7 separate regions of the Homo sapiens genome follow, and regions 1, 2, 3, 4, 5 and 7 are each linked to region 6. Evidence: promoter capture Hi-C in 16 types of primary human blood cells and fetal thymus (Javierre and others, 2016). All regions are on one chromosome and are shown on one strand. The core of a region is centred on a gene start or on the middle of the fragment in contact, and the rest is flanking DNA. Distances in the headings are between cores, read along the strand shown.

The links. The method cuts DNA at HindIII sites, captures the fragments that hold promoters and counts their contacts. A CHiCAGO score of 5 or more calls a contact.
Region 1: a contact is called between a fragment that was not itself captured here and the fragment with the promoter of WDR33 in region 6, in 3 of 17 cell types (naive B cells, activated CD4 T cells and total B cells). The highest score is 6.3, in naive B cells.
Region 2: a contact is called between the fragment with the promoter of IWS1 here and the fragment with the promoter of WDR33 in region 6, in 8 of 17 cell types (fetal thymus, non-activated CD4 T cells, naive B cells and 5 more). The highest score is 10.4, in fetal thymus.
Region 3: a fragment that was not itself captured here is called in contact with the fragment with the promoter of WDR33 in region 6 in 1 of 17 cell types (fetal thymus); the score reaches 5.6 in fetal thymus.
Region 4: a contact is called between a fragment that was not itself captured here and the fragment with the promoter of WDR33 in region 6, in 1 of 17 cell types (activated CD4 T cells). The highest score is 5.3, in activated CD4 T cells.
Region 5: a fragment that was not itself captured here is called in contact with the fragment with the promoter of WDR33 in region 6 in 1 of 17 cell types (total B cells); the score reaches 5.9 in total B cells.
Region 7: a fragment that was not itself captured here is called in contact with the fragment with the promoter of WDR33 in region 6 in 4 of 17 cell types (naive CD8 T cells, total CD8 T cells, total CD4 T cells and 1 more); the score reaches 6.4 in naive CD8 T cells.

What each region holds. Positions count from the first base shown.
Region 1 is chr2:127,504,363-127,507,062 of GRCh38, forward strand. IWS1 (interacts with SUPT6H, CTD assembly factor 1) reads right to left here. Exons shown (of 14, transcript NM_017969.3): 3 at 322-1,390. Among named protein-coding and RNA genes, the nearest start is that of IWS1, 21 kb to the right of the region's middle. The HindIII fragment of the contact is 2,101 bases long and covers 270-2,370 here.
Region 2 is chr2:127,525,222-127,527,921 of GRCh38, forward strand. IWS1 (interacts with SUPT6H, CTD assembly factor 1) reads right to left here and starts at 1,268. Exons shown (of 14, transcript NM_017969.3): 1 at 954-1,268. The coding sequence starts at 987. RefSeq lists enhancers at 478-1,177, 508-587, 598-657, 1,188-1,247, 1,508-1,557 and 1 more and silencers at 838-947, 1,589-1,762. The HindIII fragment of the contact is 4,097 bases long and covers 754-2,700 here.
Region 3 is chr2:127,410,270-127,412,969 of GRCh38, forward strand. LOC124908047 (translation initiation factor IF-2-like) reads right to left here and starts at 85. Exons shown (of 3, transcript XM_047446883.1): 1 at 27-85. The coding sequence starts at 85. RefSeq lists enhancers at 556-755, 896-945. The HindIII fragment of the contact is 627 bases long and covers 1,058-1,684 here.
Region 4 is chr2:127,366,791-127,369,490 of GRCh38, forward strand. All of the region lies in intron 1 of MAP3K2 (mitogen-activated protein kinase kinase kinase 2), which reads right to left. The region is part of intron 1 of LOC124906074 (a long non-coding RNA gene); the gene reads left to right. Among named protein-coding and RNA genes, the nearest start is that of MAP3K2-DT, 19 kb to the right of the region's middle. The HindIII fragment of the contact is 3,235 bases long and covers 1-2,700 here.
Region 5 is chr2:127,350,321-127,353,020 of GRCh38, forward strand. All of the region lies in intron 1 of MAP3K2 (mitogen-activated protein kinase kinase kinase 2), which reads right to left. Among named protein-coding and RNA genes, the nearest start is that of MAP3K2-DT, 36 kb to the right of the region's middle. RefSeq lists an enhancer at 1,667-2,166. The HindIII fragment of the contact is 1,773 bases long and covers 483-2,255 here.
Region 6 is chr2:127,809,888-127,812,587 of GRCh38, forward strand. It overlaps WDR33 (WD repeat domain 33), which reads right to left and starts at 1,284. Exons shown (of 22, transcript NM_018383.5): 1 at 1,125-1,284. LOC124907885 (a long non-coding RNA gene) reads left to right here and starts at 1,364. Exons shown (of 2, transcript XR_007087230.1): 1 at 1,364-2,256; 2 at 2,625-2,700. RefSeq lists enhancers at 1-266, 349-1,289, 696-775, 856-935, 956-1,245 and 1 more. The HindIII fragment of the contact is 7,008 bases long and covers 1-2,700 here.
Region 7 is chr2:128,087,124-128,089,823 of GRCh38, forward strand. No RefSeq gene overlaps it. Among named protein-coding and RNA genes, the nearest start is that of UGGT1, 2.7 kb to the right of the region's middle. The HindIII fragment of the contact is 4,939 bases long and covers 1-2,700 here.

The DNA of each region.
Region 1 (2,700 bases), core at 70-2,569, 310 kb before region 6:
GTTTTTATGTAAACGTATTTCTTTGAAACATTACCTCTTCCAGTTTTAAAAAAAAAAAACAGTATTTTATATTCCTATTGACATGTGGTTTATCACTTTGAGGCAGTCAGAGATTAATATGTGCTAATAGAACTCCAAGGAAACTTACTATTAAGCTTAGCTAATGATAACCAGGGGAAATGAGTGTCCTACTGATATTTTAGAATATTAAGCTGAATAACAGAACACAGATCTGACATACCAAGAGGATACAATGTTCCACAGTTACAAGCTTAGACAATGAATAAAGCCATTGATAAACAGCCCAAGGTAACTCCTTACATGCTTTCTCTTCATCTTCACTATCAGAAAGCACAGCAGCTTTTCTCTTCGCTACTTTCTCCTCCTCACCCTCTTTTTCATCTTCATCACTGTCCATTTTTTGCTTTTTGTGTTCTTCCTCCTCACTATCAGAACTGTGAAACTTTTTTCTGTCCATATGGCTGTCTGAATGGAAGGAGTCATTCTGCATTTCTGTATCCTCTCCCTTATTCTCCCTGTCGCTGTCATCATCTGACTCTGGCTTCTGTTTGTGTCTGGACGCATCCTCAGTTTCTGAGTCACTGGCAGGCCCCTTCTGAGGCCCCTCACTCTCAGAGTCACTGACTCGGGGTTTGGGTAGCTCCTCATTTTCCGAATCACTGGCCTGGTTCCTTGGGGGATCCTCACTTTCCGAATCACTGATTCGGGGTTTGGGAAGCTCTTCATTTTCTGAGTCACTGGCCTGGTGCCTCGGAGGGTCCTCACTTTCTGAGTCACTGATACGAGGTTTGGGAAGCTCCTCATTTTCAGAGTCACTGGCCTGGTGCCTTGGGGGTTCCTCACTTTCTGAATCACTGACCTGAGGTTTAGGAAGCTCCTCACTTTCAGAATCACTCATTCGAGGTTTGGGAGGCTCCTCATTTTCGGAGTCACTGGCTTGGTGCCTTGGGGGTTCCTCACTCTCAGAGTCACTGATTTGAGGTTTTAGAGCATCTTCTGTTTCAGAGTCACTAGCAGGACTCTTCTGGAGCTCCTCAATCTCAGAATCACTGGCGGGATGCTTCCCAACATCTTCGTTTTCTGAGTCACTTGCATGCCCATTAAGAAGTTCCTCATTTTCAGAGTCACTACCAGGTAATTTCCTGGTCTCTTCACTCTCAGAGTCGCTCCCATGCTGATTGACATCCTCATTTTCAGAATCGCTTGCAGGAGGCTCTGCACGTTCCTCAGATTCAGAGTCGCTGTCCTTTTGCCTGTGAAGCTCCTCACTTTCAGAGTCACTAGCATTAAGATTTAAGGGCTCATCGTTCTCAGAGTCTGTCACATGATGTCCTTTGGGGAGGCCATCTTCTCGATCACTAGTTTCATTCTGAAAAATAAAGTGAGAAAAAATTAGGAAAGTGCAAAAAAAAAAAAACCATTAATAATAAAACATTAAATTTTTTCTGTGATTTTTTTAAAATACAGGATTATGTGCACCTAAATGGAGAATTCTTGTCCTATACCCATATAGAAACACCCCCACAGAAAGCCAATCAGTGAAATGGTTTTATTTGGATCCCCAAATGGGGAAATATAACCAGCCTTCATCAAAACAGATTTGTAAAGCATGCCCTCAGATTACTACAGAAAACTGACCGTGAAGAGCTAGATTTTTTCTTTTTTAAAAGGCGAATTTTCTCATACATACTTCTGTTTTGTAAAAATATAACTCTAGGCTGGACAAGGTGGCTCACACCTTTTGGGAGGCCGAGGTGGTGGATCACCTGAGGTCAGGAGTTCGAGACCAGCCCGGCCAACATGGTGAAACCCTGTCTCTATTAAAAATACAAAAATTAGCTGGGCGTGGTGGTGGACACCTGTAATCCCAGCTACTAGGGAGGCTGAGGCAGGAGAATCACTTGAACCTGGGAGGCGGAGGTTGCAGTGAGCTGAGATTGCACCATCGCACTCCAGCCTGGGTGACAGAGTGAGACTGTCAAAAATAAAAATAAATAAATAAAAATAAATAACTCTATTTTTCAAAGAAATACAAGCAAACATGTAACCAAGTTCTTTTACACAGGAACATTCTTGGGTTTTATAAGGTTAAGATTATTTAAGGGAAAAGAACTATAAAATTTAATTTTATTTAAAGGGTCAAATAACATATGGGCACCTTCTCCCAAGATAATTTAAGCAAACAAAGAAAGGAGAAGTTAACATTTCCTAAGTACCCACTAAGAGCCAATACCACAACAGGCTCTCTCCTGTTAGTTCATTTACTCCTCATAATGGTACTTCTCATGATAACAAAATTGAGGCTTACAGTAGTCACGGTCCTGTGTCTAGTAACCCTAGAAACAAGAAAGCTTAAGTTTTAGGGAGAACATGATTCATCTAACTATACCAACACATAATGTTACTTGAAATAATTACTCTGAAAACATGCCCTGGGGTACAAACTTGATATGTGCATATTATAGCTATGGCTTTAAAATGCAGAGAAAAATATACAAAATTAAACATGCCAAAATACTAACAAGTATTTTAGGATCCGGTGAATTTTTTCTCCCATCTGGTAGCTCAACTTTAAATAACATGGCAATAATATTCTAGCTTAAAAAGTGAAAGTATTTCCGTGTTTGAGTATACCCTCTTAAAAATTTACTGAGCCAAATATTTCTTGTTAGATATATG
Region 2 (2,700 bases), core at 18-2,517, 280 kb before region 6:
AGTGCTGGGATTACAGGCATAATCCACCGCACCTGGCTTAGGAAAGTGTTTTTAAGCAGTGCATGCCTGGAAAACGCTTTGCAGTCATTAGAATTCACTGTCCTACGTAAGGAAAAGCAATGAACTCAAAACAGTAAAGGGCTTAACGCTTAAACAATTATTTAAGCACTCAAGTTTTCTTTTTAATTTTCAATTTTTGTGGGTACATAGAGGGTGTATTTATTTATGGTGTATTTAAGAACTTTTGTAACAGAACGCCCCAACAGGACTAGCACACAAAGGGAAAGCAAATGCGACGTGTTTCCCACACCAGGTTCTGCCTCACTTATCCTTAATCTCAGGTGCCAAGCACCGTGCCAGCAGAGTGGGCCCCAGTAACAGCTTACAGAATAAACAAACAGTAAAGAAAGGAGACCAAACTTCGGTGAGGAGGAAGAGGAACGATCTCAAGGTGGAGGAAAGGCACAAAAACCACCAGTAAGTGCCAGAAGCGCATTCCTTACTCTATGCATGCAACTGAAACATGGGTCCTGCACTTACGTCCGGTGTTGCAAGCAAGATTAAACCACTCCTAACTAGCAGTGAAAAGTCTAGGAAGGATCCCCCGCCCCAACGCCCCTTGGATTCTCCAACTACTCAACTACTGAAAACTCTCTTAACAGAAGACACCTCTCCTTCCCTGCACACAATAGGAGCTTAACATATGAAAGTGACTTCCCAATTTCAGCAAAAACCTTCGCCGATTCAGAAGAAAGCTTTCCCACCAGAATCCCCTCTCCAACGTTCTAGCTTCGACGCTTGCAGCTGGTCAGAGGGCTCTTGCCCTCCTCGGGCCGGGTCGCGGGAGGGAAGGTTTCGGGGGGCCTCCTTGCCCCCACCCGCGGGGTGCCAGGCCAAGCCCCGCCGAGTAACTGCTCCGCCTCCCAGCCCGGTCCCCCAGGTCCCTGCCCCACCTGACTGGTCGCCGCTGTAATATTCCGAGTCCATGGCAGGCGGACTCTCAGCGGGGAGTGTCCGCGCCCCGCGCCGCCCCCGTCACCTCCTTCCAGGCGGTGTGACCCCGGATGGCGCGGCTAAGTGTTCAGAGACTGCCGCCCGACCGGAGAACTTAACGGGTGCGGAGGGTAAGAAAGCGGTAGCGGCAAAGGCGAATTCTTTGACCTGGAAGCCCCGGCGGAAAAGGCCGTACCCGGCAGGCTGGCGGGCGGGCAGGCATGCGAGCCGGCGTTCTACTTCCTAGAAGCACCGCTGGGGCCAAAATGGCGTCTGCCCACGACCCTCAAAGGAATGCAGCGCGCAGGCGCCGCAACCCGTCAACCGGCCAATGAGAAGACGCAACAGCAATGACGCCAGGCACGGCCGGAAAGGAGACTCCTGGGAAAATTGAGCTGGAACTCGGGCTTTAGTTAAATACCTTCCTCGGGTGGATCCTGGTCTGACCCCCGTGGTAATAACGTTATCATTGATTCTTTATCATTTCCTAGATTCTGTGTCCGTGCCTTGTTTGAAGAGCTTTTGAGATACTCTTCCGAAAAATGAAGACCTGCTCAAATGACTTTTCCGTCATTCAGCCAAACCACTGTCTTTCCCGTCAGGCCCAGAGGCGCCTGGTTCCCGCCCGCAGTAGGCAAGAAAGCGGGCGTTGCTCACTGGGACTTGTAGTATGACGCCCGCGAGCTGTGATGCGTTACTAACTGGCGCGATCCACAGCGCCTCCTCTCCCGGCGTCTTCCTCTCTTTCATTCTAAACAACGATTTAATTTCCTTGTTAAGAAGCCATTTAGCCAACAGTAAGAAGTACACGTCTTTGCTTCCAGAAGGGTTCCCCTGATGAAACACCGGAGGAAGGTGAAGTTGAACTTTACCTGAGCCCTGTGTTCCTGGAAAACAGCGGTGATTAAGAAACCCCCTCATCTATTTGTGTTTCTGGAACGGCACACTGTAAAGAACCACCCGTCTCCATGTGACTCAGATAAAACGCGTGCAGATGACCCCCTTGTTTGCCTGTGACAAGGCCAGAGACCTTTCCCCTTTATTCTGAGCCTGTTAATAAAGCCAAACAGACCTTCCAAATTCCCGCTGATGATATCGAGTGATTAGTTGAGATTAGAACTCTCCTCCCCCCAACTTGTTAGACACAGAGAACATTTCCTGTTCACCTGACTGAAACTTCTCCTGATTGCAAAACAATCCCAACTGTCAATCATCCCACCTTCCTCCCTATAAAAGTCAAAACTACGCTGCCAAGACACTGATCATATCTGGAGTGCTCTCCCTATTGCAATAGGCTGAGTAAAATCCATTTCCTTACTTGTTCATTTTAGTCTTGGACAGAGAGGGGAACATTCTTGCCTTTGGATCGGAGGAGGGCCAGTAGAGGTTTAAGCAAAGACTCCCCAGGAGGTGTAGACATGTAGAAAAAGAGCCTTTTGTTACTACTGCAGATATCTGACCCTTCGTTAGCCAGTCAGAGTATGCTGGCAGAGCCCAATTATAGGCTCCTGAAGAGGACGTGGGAAGAGAAGAAAGGGGAGAAGTGGTTTCTCTCTGGAAATTCCCATTTTCCTGCAAGAGAGTTCATGGATATTCCTTTCCGAAGTGGTGGAAACAGCATTGAATCCAAATTCCTTCTTTTCAGCTGTGGGAATGACATCTTCTCAGGCAGTCTTGAGAATCAAAAGAACAAAGAATTAGCAATGC
Region 3 (2,700 bases), core at 121-2,620, 400 kb before region 6:
CCAGCTGTCCAAAGATGTCCATTCACTTTGCATCTGCAGGCTGGTTTTGGTAAACCAGCAGTTTGTCATCTTTTGCATCTATCATGTAGGATATCCATGGCTAAGATATCCATCCTTTTTGAACTTTTTTTTTTTTTTTGAGTTGGAGTCTTACTCTGTCGCCCTGGCTGGAGTACAGTGGCGTGATCTCGGCTCACTGCAACCTCAACTACCCAGGTTCAAGTGATCCTCCGGCCTCAGCCTCCCAAGTAGCTGGGAGTACAGGCGCGTGCCACCACGCCTGGCTAATTTTTGTATTTTTAGTAGAGACAGGGTTCGCCATGTTGGCCAGGTTGGTCTCGAACTCCTGACCTCAGCTGATCCACCCACCTCGGCCTCCCAAAGTGCTGGAATTATAGGCGTGAGCAATGGCACCCGGCCCTTTTTGAACATTTCTGAGCACACTGGATGTCACTGTAAGTTAAACCTCTCTCTGTCTCTCTCCTTCTCTGTCTGTGTTTCTCTCAGGAAAAATAGTTTTAAAGCACAAAGATACTTTGAACTTGTGAAGTTGAAGTTGAAGTTGAATTCCAAATAAGTTACAGTTTTAGTAAAGAAGTGAGAAAGTCTTGTTTAAATTGGCTGTCCTTTTCTGGTGACATTTTGGTTTCGTTTCCAAAAAATGAGTCATTTTTCATTATATGAGCTTTGTCAGTACCTACCTATAACATCGACAACTCAGGGACAGTCAGTTCATGCTTTTCCAGAGCCCTTATGGGCTCCTCAAAGATCATCAGGCAGTTTTGGAGGAAGAACTTATAAATTTCAGTTTGACTGTTTAACCATAATCTTTTTCTCTATTTTCATTCTTAATATATTTCCAAATTAGACAAGGACATTCTTCTTGTCCCATGCTTTGAAAATATGGTTGTATGGCAGGCTGCCTTTTTACCCTGGCAACAGTGACAGCCCTCGTGTAGGCACATGTCCAAAGGAGGCCATCTCCTTCCATTTCTGGAATGTGAAAAATCTCATTAAGTGCTTTTTCATGCTTTGAGGAAACTGAAAAGTAAATAAAAGCTTTCATTTTGAAAGCATCAATATCACAGGGAAGGAAACTCCACCCCTTTTTACTGATGTGTACAAAATGTGCAGGACACTTCGTGGCTAATATTTTTAACTTTTCTTTGGTAAAGCGTTCATAGACTGCATGGAATTTGCAAAAATTTACATTTGCACGGTCTGCCAAATAGGCAGACAGATGGGCAAAGTCATGTTTGTATTTGGACAAGATAGCATCAACATTCTTTTTTTTTTTCTGCAGGTGGATTAAAATCTTCATAGAAATAAAAAGGATGATTTGAAACTCCATTTTTTCAAATCAAAGTATTTACAAGTTAGGAGAACTGTTTTTCATTGCCATGATTGGATGCAGCACTTGGTTACTGTAGAAAGCATGATTGTTGGTGGGATCTGGCAGAATCCGCTGCATGTTGTAAAGGGTCAACACAGCTGCCATCGACATTTCTCCCTTTGTTCACCCACGTGATATTTCAGTTACAGCCTGTAAATGAGGAAATGTGCCCCTACTCAGTTTCAAAAAACAATCAAAGGAGCAGCACAATCACACAAATTCATTTTTGTAGTTTGCCCTAGCTAATTCAGCAGCCACTATTTTCAATTGGTGTCTTTTGTGGAGACAAAAAGCTTTTTGGTTAATGTGGACATACTTGCCTATCTCACTGAGGACTTGTGAGGCAGTCTCTACAGTCCCTTCTTCCACCATGCCCAACCCCGAATTCTCTCTGCTTATTGCGCAGTATCCCTTGTTTTGATTCTTTACCTCCCTCATCCAGTTGTCTGTGTCACTCCTCCTGTCGTTAAAATAACATGGCCATTTGGGTCACGCGGGCATTGATATTGCAACACCATTTCCTCATTTTCATCACCTGAATGCTTAAGAAAACATGGCCTCAGTAGTCACCATGCTAAAATTAAACTAGCAGTGTCTCAATACAAAGCACAACAATTAATCCGCAGGCAAAGTGGATGGTCACGTTCAAGATTATAGCGCGCTTAAGTTACATCACAAGGAGTGACATAATAATGGATGATCCACTATGGTGTACTACAAATCATGGTGGTTGTCCTCAGCAACAGACACTAAGGAAGGTGATGTGCCCATTTGGCACTAAAACCAGTGTTGCCTTCGGCCTCTGTTTCTGGGGTTGCCATGTGGGTTTTATACCTTTCCCCTAATCTCCTGTATCAATCACTGAAAACCTCGACTTTTCTCTTCCCAAGGGAGAGTTTACTTCCCTTTAACTTTTTGGCTTCTTCTTTAGGACTTTTAGTGTTAAAAATGGTACAATCCCAGACAAATGGGATAGTTGATCATCTTATCATGTTTATAGAATCAAGAAATAATGTCTCAATTTAAAAAGTCAATTGTATTTATAAACACTAGCAACAAACAATTGTAAGTTCAAATTTTTAAAATGCCACTTACAATAACATTTTTAAAACATGAAATAAGTAGGGATAAATTTAACAAAATATGTTCAAGACCTATACCTGAAAACAATTAAACATTGGAGAGAGAAATTAACAAAGAGCTGAATAAATGTAGAGAAATACCATGCTAATAGATGAGAAGACTCAACATTAAGATGTCTTTTATTCCTAAATTGTTCTATAGATTCAATTCAATCCAAATCAAGA
Region 4 (2,700 bases), core at 146-2,645, 440 kb before region 6:
TCTGTTCTCTGTTATTTTCTAAGGCTCAATGCTTACTATTCTGGAGTTCATTACTAAGCTGTCCCACAGTCAAGGGTTTTTTTTTTTTTTTTTTTTTTTGAGACAGAGTCTCGCTTTGTCACCAGGCTGGAGTGCAGTGGCACAATCTCAGCTCACTGCAACCTCCACCTCCCGGATTCAAGCCAATCTCCCGCCTCAGCCTCCCGAGTAGCTGGGATTACAGGCATGCACCACCACACTCGGCTAATTTTTGTATTTTTATTAATATACATTACATGATCTCAGAACACATAACTAACCTACCCTTTCTCAAATCACAGGGCAAGATTATATATGAAGAGACATAACAGCTTGGGGGTGAAGTCAAAAGAATGCAGCCATGTACTGATCACAGACTGGTTGGATTAATGTCACATCATCTCTAAAAGTAGATTTTTATCAATCTAAGGCTGAGCAACCCTCTACTTATCTTGTTTCCTTATAGTATCTGAGCAACTAAGAAGTTTTGTAAATACTGTCTGACATATGTATATTATACAATAAGATATTATTAACTTTAAAAAGGAGTTAACAGGTTACTTTAAAATGCCTAATCAGAATATACATTAAAGCCATCATATGAAACATAATGTTGATCTATCTCTCCTTAAACTGAATCAGGAGACATTAGGTCTCATTTCCCTATCACATTAGAATAAAATACTTTGGATTAAAACTCCAGGCAGGGCACTGTGGCTCACAACCATAATCCCAGCACTTTGGGAGGCTGAGGCAGGCATATTACCTGAGGTCAGGAGTTTGAGACCAGCGTGGCCAACATGGTGAAACCCTATCTCCACTAAAAATGCAAAAATTAGCCAGGCGTGGTGGCACATGCCTGTAATCCCAGCTACTCGGGAGGCTGAGGCACGAGAATGGCTTGAATGCAGGAGGCGGACGTTGTGGTGAGCCAAGATCGCACCACTGCACTCCAGCCTGGGTGACAGAGTGAGACTCCGTCTCAAAACAAAACCTCCATAATACCATTAAAATGTAACAAAGCCAGTCAAACTTTACAGTAATTAGAAACTCTCAAATAATGATAATGAAACACATCTAAACACGTCTAAGTCACAAATCTAAAATAAAATATGACTTAGGAGCATCCAACTACAGTCATCCCTCAGTATCCACAAGGGACTTGTCTCAGGACCCCATAGATAACAAAATCTGCAAATGCTCAAGTCCCTCATATAAAATGGCAAGTATCGGCTGGGCATGGTGGCTCACGCCTGTAATCCCAGCACTCTGGGAGGCCGAGGCGGGTGGATCACTTGAGGTCAGCAGTTTGAGACCAGCCTGGCCAACATGGTGAAGCCCTGTCTCTACTACAAATAGGAAAATTAACCTGGTGTGGTGGTGTGCCCCTGTAGTCCCAGGTACTTGGGAGGCTGAGGCACAAGAATCACTTGAACCCAGAAGGCAGAGGCTGCAGTGAGCCGAGATCACACCACTGCACTCCAGCCTGGGTGACAGAACAAGACACTGTCTCAAAAAAATAAAAATAAGGCGGTCGGGCATGGTGGCTCACACCTGTAATCCCAGCACTTTGGGAGGCTGAGGCGGGCAGATCACGAGGTCTGGAGTTCGAAACCATCCTGGCCAACATGGTGAAACCCCATCTCTACTAAAAATACAAAAAATTAGCCGGGTGTGGTGGCATGCGCCTGTAGTCCCAGCTACTCAGGAGGCTGAGGCAGGAGAATGGCTTGAACCAGGGAGGTGGAGGTTGCAGTGAGCCCAGATCGTGCCACTGCACTCCAGCCTGGAGACAGAGTGAGACTCCATCTCAAAAATAAATAAATAAATAAATAAAAATAAAAAGGCAAAGTATTTACATATAAACTATGCATATCCTCCCATATACTTTAAATCATCTCTAGATTATTTTTAATACCTAATATAACTGCCATGTAAATAGTTGTTATAAGTTATTTTTTAAATTTGTATTTTTTTTTTCTTTTTGAGATGAGGTCTTGTGATGTTGCCCAGGTTGGCCTCGACCTCTTGGGCTTAAACAAACCTCCCGCCTCAGCCTCCAAAGTAGCTGGCACTACAGGCATTTGCCACTGCACCCAGCTTGTTGAATTGTGACTAGTATTATTATTCTCAAATATTTTATTTTTTATTTTTGTGTGGACAGAGTCTCACTCTGTTGCCCAGGTTGGAGTGCAGTGGCGGGATCTCGGCTCACTGCAACCTCCGACTCCCTGGTTCATGCGATTCCCCTGCCTCAGCCTCCGGAGTAGCTGGGATTACAGGCACGCATCACCACGCCCAGCTATTTTTTTTTTGCATTTTTAGTAAAGACAGGGTTTCACCATATTGGCCAGGCTGGTCTTGAACTCCAGACCTTGTGATCTGCCCGCCTCGGCCTCCCAAAGTACTGGGATTACAGGCATGAGCCACCGTGCTCGGCCATTCTCAAATATTTTCTATCTGTGGTTGGTTGAATCCACAGATGCAGCAGCACCTGCAGATACAGAGGACTGACTGTATTATTACAAAACAGCAAATAATAGGCTGGGCGCGGTGGCTCACGCCTGTAATCCCAGCACTTTGGGAGGCCGAGGCGGGCGGATCACGAGGTCAGGAGATCGAGACCCTCCTGGCTAACACGGTGAAACCCCGTCTCTACTAAAAAAAAAAAAAAAAAAAAAA
Region 5 (2,700 bases), core at 119-2,618, 460 kb before region 6:
CAATGAAGTTAGGCCCAATAGCTATAATCTCAGCTACTCAGGAGACTGAGGCAGGAGGATCACTTCAGCCCAGGGGTTTGTATCCCACCAGGGCGACATGGCAAGATCCCATCTCCTGAAACAAAAACAAAAACAAAAAAAAAAAAAAAAAGAAAGAAGAAAACCATGAGTCCATAAAAACAAAGATAAACAAATAAATCAACAATGGGAGGAAGAGAAAGCTTTTTCTTACAGTAGAATGTCAACTAATGAATGTAATAAAATTAGAAAGACCACCATTCAGCAATCATCAATAGAAATAATTAAGTAATAATTCAACCAAGAAAAATCAACAAATGCTAAAGCTAGTGGATGAAAAGTGTGATGAGGAATGAGTTACTTAGTTTCAACACACCATCTCCAAAAAATAATCATTTCCACTCATTTTTCAAAGGAAAAAAAAGTACCCTTTCTAGTGTAGAAAGCCAGCAGACAAAAAAAAAAGCTTAAGTCAAGTGATCCATGTTAATTAAGATCATCAGTAACAGGCAAATTAAAATCATGTACCTAACTAGCCTGACTTCAATTTTTAAAAATTAAAAAAAAGTGCCAACTGGTAAGGTAACACTGAGAAGAATACCACATCACCTCTGTGATACTGCTACCAAAAATTGATAACCTGAATTGATTCATAGGGAAGCATTAGACAAATCTCAATTGAGAAATAGTCTAAGAATTAACTGCTCTGTAAACCTCAAAACTGTCGAAATCATGAAAGTCAAGGAAACGTTATGGCTGTTCTAGATTGAAATACATCAAAAAGACACAACAACTAAATGCAAATTATAATCCTGATTGAATTATTTTCCTAAAATGAGCATTATTGGGACTACTGGCAAAACTTGAATGGGTTCTGTGGATTAGATGATATAATCCACAGGTTCTATCAATGCTAACCTCCTCATTTTGACAGTTGGATTCTGGATATGTAGAAAAATATCCTTATTGATAGCAATTACAAACTAAAATATTGTGGGGTGATGGGACCTCATGTTAGCAAGTTACTCTCAAATAATCAAAACAAATTTCTTTATACTGGTTTTGCAACTTCTGGAACTTATTTCAGAAGAAAAAAATTGTAAAAACAAAAACAAAGTGAAAAAAATCTATTCTTCTCCAGTCTTATCAAGAAGCATCTCTATTTTTCCAGTTGCTCAAAACAAAAATTTTGAGATAGGCTTGACCCCTCTCATGCTCTCACCTTATATTCCAATCCATTAGCAAATCCCATTAGCTTTCCCTTAAAAATATATTTCACTACTCCAAGCCATAATCCTCTCTTGCATGGATTACTGAAATAGTTTCATATCTGATCAACTTGATTTTACTCCAAACTCTAATATAACTCATTTCCTATACAACAATAAGGATCACCCTTTTAAAAAGTAAGTCAGAGAATGTTAATGCTCTCTCTCTGTCAGAAAGTACTGGTAGTTTCTCTACTTTGAATAAATTCCAAAGTCCTTGCCATGGCTTACTTCATATAATCTAGACTTCCCTACTTCTTGTTTTTTTGTGTTTTTTTTTTCTTTTTTGAGACAGGGTCTTGCTTTGTCACCCAGGCTAGAGCGCAGTGGCACAATCATGGCTCGCTGCAGCCTTGACCTCTTGGGCTCAAGTGATACTCCCACCTCAGCCACCCAAGTAGCTGGTACTACAGGTACGCACCACCATGCCCAGCTAATTTTTGTATTTTCGGTAGAGACACGGTTTTGCTATGTTGCCCAGTCTGGTCTTGAACTTCTGGGCACAAGCAATCCACCTGCCTTGGCCTCCTAAAGTGCTGCGATTACAGCCGTGAGCCACCATGCCTGGCCAACTTCCCTACTTTTGGTGTTATATTCTACTACAGTAAAGGTTAGATACAGAACACTGCTACTTCCGCCAAGACTAACACAATGGATGATCCCATCCCCACCACTGCAAAAAAAGAAAAGAAAAGAGAAGGTTGTTTAAATACCGGTAGGCTAAAAACATAAATATCCATTACAGCTTCCATGGCAATGCACTCTCACGAGTCTCCATTCTTCACCCCACTTCCCACATCTCACCTGAGTCTGCTTCAGAATCTCTTCTTCCTTGTTTGGCTATTAAATGCCAGTGTCATTTGAAGTTTCATTCTTGCACTACTACTCTTTTCATTCTATTGAGTCTCTTGAAGAAACATCACCTATAAACTAACCCTCAAATCTGTATCTCCAATCTAGACAGAGCTAAGCTTCAAATTCCAAATTATATAAAACTAGTTGTTAGATATTTTAATCCTTGGCCACATGCTTAGGATGGCAAAGCAGTAAGTTAAAAAAGAGTGCATGCTTCCCTCTCCCTCTCCCTCCTCCTCCCCCTCCCTCCCTCTCCCTCTCTTTCCACGGTCTCCCTCTGATGCCGAGCCGAAGCTGGACTGTACTGCTGCCATCTCGGCTCACTGCAACCTCCCTGCCTGATTCTCCTGCCTCAGCCTGCCGAGTGCCTGCGATTGCAGGTGCGCGCCGCCATGCCTGACTGGTTTTCGTATTTTTTTGGTGGAGACGCGGTTTCGCTGTGTTGGCTGGGCTGGTCTCCAGCTCCTAACCTCAAGTGATCCGCCAGCCTCGGCCTCCCAAGGTGCCGGGATTGCAGATGGAGTCTCGTTCACTCAGTGCTCAATGGTGCCCAGGCTGG
Region 6 (2,700 bases), core at 34-2,533:
GAGACAAAAAAAGCAAAAGTATCTTACAGTAATAAAAAATGGGTAAAATGCAATTAAGGCGAGGAAATGAAAAATGCCACAAGAGGTACAACTAGCATAACTGTCACTAAAAGGTTTGAATTAAGTAGGTTTACCACTGCACCATATTCACAGGCTATATATACATACACACACACATATATACACATATATATGTATATATAGCATGCATTAGCTCTCCAGAGTGTACTAAAAAAGTAAAGTCTACGCTCCCCAGAGTTGTTCCTTTCAGTGCAGGCTTTTTGTTCATATTCTAATGTCTTCCAAAGTTCCTGAACAGTCAACTTAAGATCATGTGTGTAGAAACTACTTTAAAACATTCTTGACAGGCTTTCTACAAGTAGCCCGTATTTTTCTGATTTGATTTAAATAGATCCAATTACGGAATTCCCTACCGACCTGCCGCCGCCGCCTCCTCCTTACTCCGGAAGGGGCCACTAATCCCAAGGGTTACAACCAAGTACAAACATTCATTGTCATTTCTTTTAAGAAGGCATGCTAAGATCCTCACTACTTAGTTGCCAGAAGACAACTTAAAATCAGAAACAGGGATCTAGCACAAACCAAATAGAAATACAACTATTCCAAAAAAGCAGGGCTTTGCCTGTCAAGCTGTAGCCTCATCCTTATAATAAGCACCGATTTCAAGCCACGATAACATCACGGCTAAGTCTTCAGCTGTTTTGCAGATTTCACGTTAACTTCCCTTGACCCTTTCAACCAACTACTTCAACTCGGCCCACTTCTTTCCACTCCCGCCCCAAACCTCAGTTAAAATGCATTTCCCTCCAAACTTCACGTCTTAACTGTGGCCTGACTTACGTCTTCTCGTCGCCACCGCTCCCAGTCAGGGCCTTAGTTCTAACCATGGCCGCTTTTCCCGGTTGGCCTCCAGCCTCCAGCCCCCTCCCATAAGTCTCGAACCTGCCTCGAACAGCCGCCCCGAGGTCGATTCTCCCAGTTCCTCCAACCTGTGCCCAGGCGCCCGTCCAGGCCCCCAAAGCACGCAACGGCCGAGCCCGAAAATGGCGGAGAGTGCCGCTGCCTGCTGCAGGCGAGCAGTCCCGTGTCGCCGCCGCACTCACCGTCTGGCTTTGAGCAGAGCTCCTAAATGGCCAGCGAAGCGTTCGCCTTCAGAGCCAGAAATGTCTCTCTTGTTTGGTCTCCCCACCCCGATCCTCTCAATCCCGCTCCTCCAAAGGAGCAGCCGCCATCTTCCCCTATGGGCCACCGAACGCACGCTCTGGGGTCATCACGCACTGGCGGGACGGCGCTACGTCACGCGCGCCTGGACCGCGGGCCTCTGTGAGGTTCGATCTGCGCATGTGCCTAGGTGAGGTGCCGAGCCGCGAGACCCTGCAGAGCGCTTCCTTTGTTCCGGAGCGAGTAGGACGCGCTACCTCCTGGAGGAAAGAAGCGACTGCGTTTCGCAGTGCTGACTTTTTTTTACAGTGTGAGCTAACGTGTATGCTCTGAAAAACACCCCGTTTTCCAGTATGTGAATGAGTATATTTGTACGGGGCCAGTACGGCAGACATAGCGGGTCGTTGGACCGAGCCCACCGAGAGTGGATCTGTGGGAAGCCACTGTGGCACCTTGCTGAGTCTGTTCACCCGTGCAGCTAGCTGGTGGCAGCCCTGGCAGATCCCGGCACACAGTCAGGCTCCACGCCTTACCCGAGCCAGTTGTGCCTCTAGATTACGCCTCGCTTAAAGTCCAGCGACCAAGATAGAAAAACAGCCCCACGATGCAACCATTTTGGAAAACCGCTGCAGTTTCTGCCAAAGCTAAATGTACGCTTACCTTGTGACCCCAGAAATTTCACTTCAAGAGGAATGAGTGCATACGTCCACCAAAGGCATGTGCAAGAATGTCCATAGCACGTTTATTCGTAGTAGTAAAAAACTGGTAACCTAAATGTCCATCAGCAGTTGAGTGGCTAAATTGTGGTGTATCATACAGTGGATTTCTACAGAGAAATAGGAAGTTACGGATAAACGCAACAGCCTGAACGAATAGCAGCTACTGTTAACTTAGGCACAAAGAAGAGGACGCTGTATGATTCCATTTTGATGAGGTTCAAAATATAACTGCACAGCAAGTTGTTCTCCAGTATGAATCAGGAATCGTACCAGCCTGGGGAACATGGCGAGATCCCATCTTTGCGCGTCGGGGTGCGTTCCTGTGACCGCCTTCCTGTGATCGTTCCTGTGATGGGTACTTGGGAGACTGGGGTGGGAGGATCACTTGAGCCCAGGAGTTGGAGGGCGCAGTGAGCCAAGATCGTGCCAGTGCACTTAAGTCTTGGAAGCAGAGTAAGACCCTGTCTCAAAGAAGTCTTACTTTTGACTCCATAATCCCCTTCCAAAAATCTATTCTAAGGATAGCCTCAGAGATGTGAGTAAGATTTGTGTACTAATCTTTGAGGTATTAATGATAGCAAAAAAAAAAGGAAACAGTAGCAGACAGTGATTAAATAATGGCACATCCATACGTAGACTATCATGCAGACATTACACAGTATCTAAAGTTTTTATGATAACATCAGAAATGTTTATAAACTTCTATATTTTTTCTTTTTTTAGAGACAAGGTCTCTCACCCAGGGTGATCATAACTCACTGCAGCCTCAACCTCCCGGGCTCAAGTGATCCTCTCACCT
Region 7 (2,700 bases), core at 57-2,556, 280 kb after region 6:
AGCTAGGGCATGACAAGGCATTCCACAAAAGGATACACAGATTGCAAATGACCATGTGAAAATATGCTCATCATCACCAGCCACTAGGGAAATGCAAATTGAAACCATGATGAGGAATTACTATGTGCCTATCAAAATAACAAAAATAAAAAAATAATGGCAGTACCAATTGTGGGTAAGAATGCAGAGAAAATGGATCTCTCATACACTGGTGGTGGGAATGTAAAATGGTACAGCCATTCTAGAAAATAGTTTGGCCTTTCCTTACAAGCAAAATGTACATTTACCATATGATCAAGTAATTGCACTCTTGGGCATTCATCCCAGATAAAAAAAAACTTAGGTCTAGGCCAGACATGGTGGCTCATGCCTGTAATCCCAACACTTTGGGAGGCTGAAGCAGGTGGATCACTTGAGGTCAGGGGTTTGAAAACAGCCTAGCCAACATGGCAAAACCCCATCTCTACTAAAAATAAAAAAATTACCCGGGTGTGGTGGCACACACTTGTAATTCCAGGTACTCAGGAGGCTGAGGCAGGAGAATTGCTTGAATCCAGAAGCAGAGGTTGCAGTGAGCCAGATCACACTACTGCACTCCAGCCTGGGTGACAGAGTGAGCGACACTCCTTCCCAACAAAAACAAACAAAAAACTTGTGTCTATGTAAAAAACCTTTACATAGGGCTGGGCGTGGTGGCTCATGACTGTAATCCCAGGACTTTGGGAGACCAAGTGGGGAGGATTGCTTGAGCCCAAGATTTTGAGACCAGCCTGGGTAACATGGTGAGACCTGATCTATTAAATAAATAAATAAATAAATAAATAATTTTTTTTTATTTGAGACAGAGTCTTGCTCCTCACCCAGGCTGGAGTGGAGTGGCGCAATCTCTACTCACTGCAACCTCTGCTTCCTGGGTGCAAGCAATTCTCCTGCCTCAGCCTCCCAAGTAGCTGGGATTACAGGCGCCCACCACCATGCCTGGCTGATTTTTGTAATTTTAAATAAATAAATAAATAAATATAAATACAAACCTGTACATGAATGTTAATAGGAGCTTTATTTGTAATAGTCCAGAACTGGAAAAAACCCAAATATCCTTCAATAGGTGATGCTAAAATGAATCTGTATGTTTGTACCATGGAATATTACTCAGTAATAAAAAGGAACAAACTACTGATATCTACAACTTGTATGGCTCCACAGGTGGTTATGCTGAGTGAATAAATAAATAAAAAAGCTACATACTATGTGATACTATTCATATAACATTCTAGAATTGAAAAATTTTATATTTAATGATCAAAATGATGGTTGCCACAGGCTAGGGGTTTTGGGGGTAGGAAAGTAGTTCTGACTTCATAAAGGGGTAGCACAAGGGAGATCTTTGTGGTGCTGCAATAGTTGTGGGTCTTCATTTTGGCAGTGGTTACACAAATGTACAGACATACACAAAATGATGGAAATATACCTGTCTCCCCCACACAATGTACCAAGTCAATTTCTGGTTTTCATACTTTAATATAGATATTTGAAATGTAATCATTGGGGGAATGGGCTTAAGGGTACAAAGTACCTCTGTGTACTATCTTTGCAACTTCTTGTGAATTTATAATTATTTCTAAATAAAAAGTTTAAAAAATTTTTTAAAATCTGTTTTTATTCAAATAAGGTAGCACTTTTCAGAGAAAGGTTTAGAAAAGGTGAAATCCAACTTTCCTAGAAGCTCTGTGCTACCACTTAGCTGTATTTTAAAACTAAGCAAACTTTGGTTTTGTTCATGGATCACATAGCAGAAGATCAAGATAAGGCCAAGAAAAAGTATATAATCAACTTTGTAATGAGGTGAATTAACAATTTCCTTTTTATTGAAGCATTAGCTGATGTGATTTAAAGAGGGCTAGAAAATACACTATGGAAAGCTAACACAACAGCTCCCTTGTGAAATAAATTTTAAAATGCTCATGTTTTTTTCTTTTCGTAGGTGTGTGTACACATTTAGTTTTATTGTAACAAAGCAACTTGTACACTTTTAACATTTAAAACTGAGCATGATCTTTCCTTTCCAGTGAAACAAAATTTAAAAATAAACAGGAACAAAATTACAATAGAGAATGTCAATTCCAAATAAGATCCTAGAGGTTCTGCTGATTCTCCCACTGAGTGGCAGGGCTCAAGTCATCATTAGGAGAGAATTTATTTTAAAAGCGTCATCTTAAACTGCAAGGATGTGTGTCAAACATCGCAATTAAACATGCCAAAGGAGAAGCCATGTTGTCAAAATGTCCGCTTAACCCACCCAAACATCTCAGACCCACCCTTTGCTGACTTCTAGAATCCCATTTTTTAAAGTTTTTTTCTTTTTTTAAACAAGAGAAAGTAGACAGAAAGATGTTGGTAAATGCTAACTGTCCATATTCACATAGAGACCCAGTGTACTCTCCGAGCCCAATATACAGAGAAAGCAGGAAGAAAGCTAGAATTGAATGCTCTGCTACACATGGGCCTAGAGCCCTCCAGCTTCCAGCAGGGCGAAGGGAGCAGGTTTTTCTTTTTTCCCACAGAGCTGGGGTGATGTTGATTCTATACAGTTTTTGCTCAGACAGGAAGGGATAAAAATGAATTTCGAACAGAAAGGGGTAGAGACTCTTTTCCCATTGTATTCTGCTGAAGTTATTTCCCCCAAAATAAGTTGAGAACTAT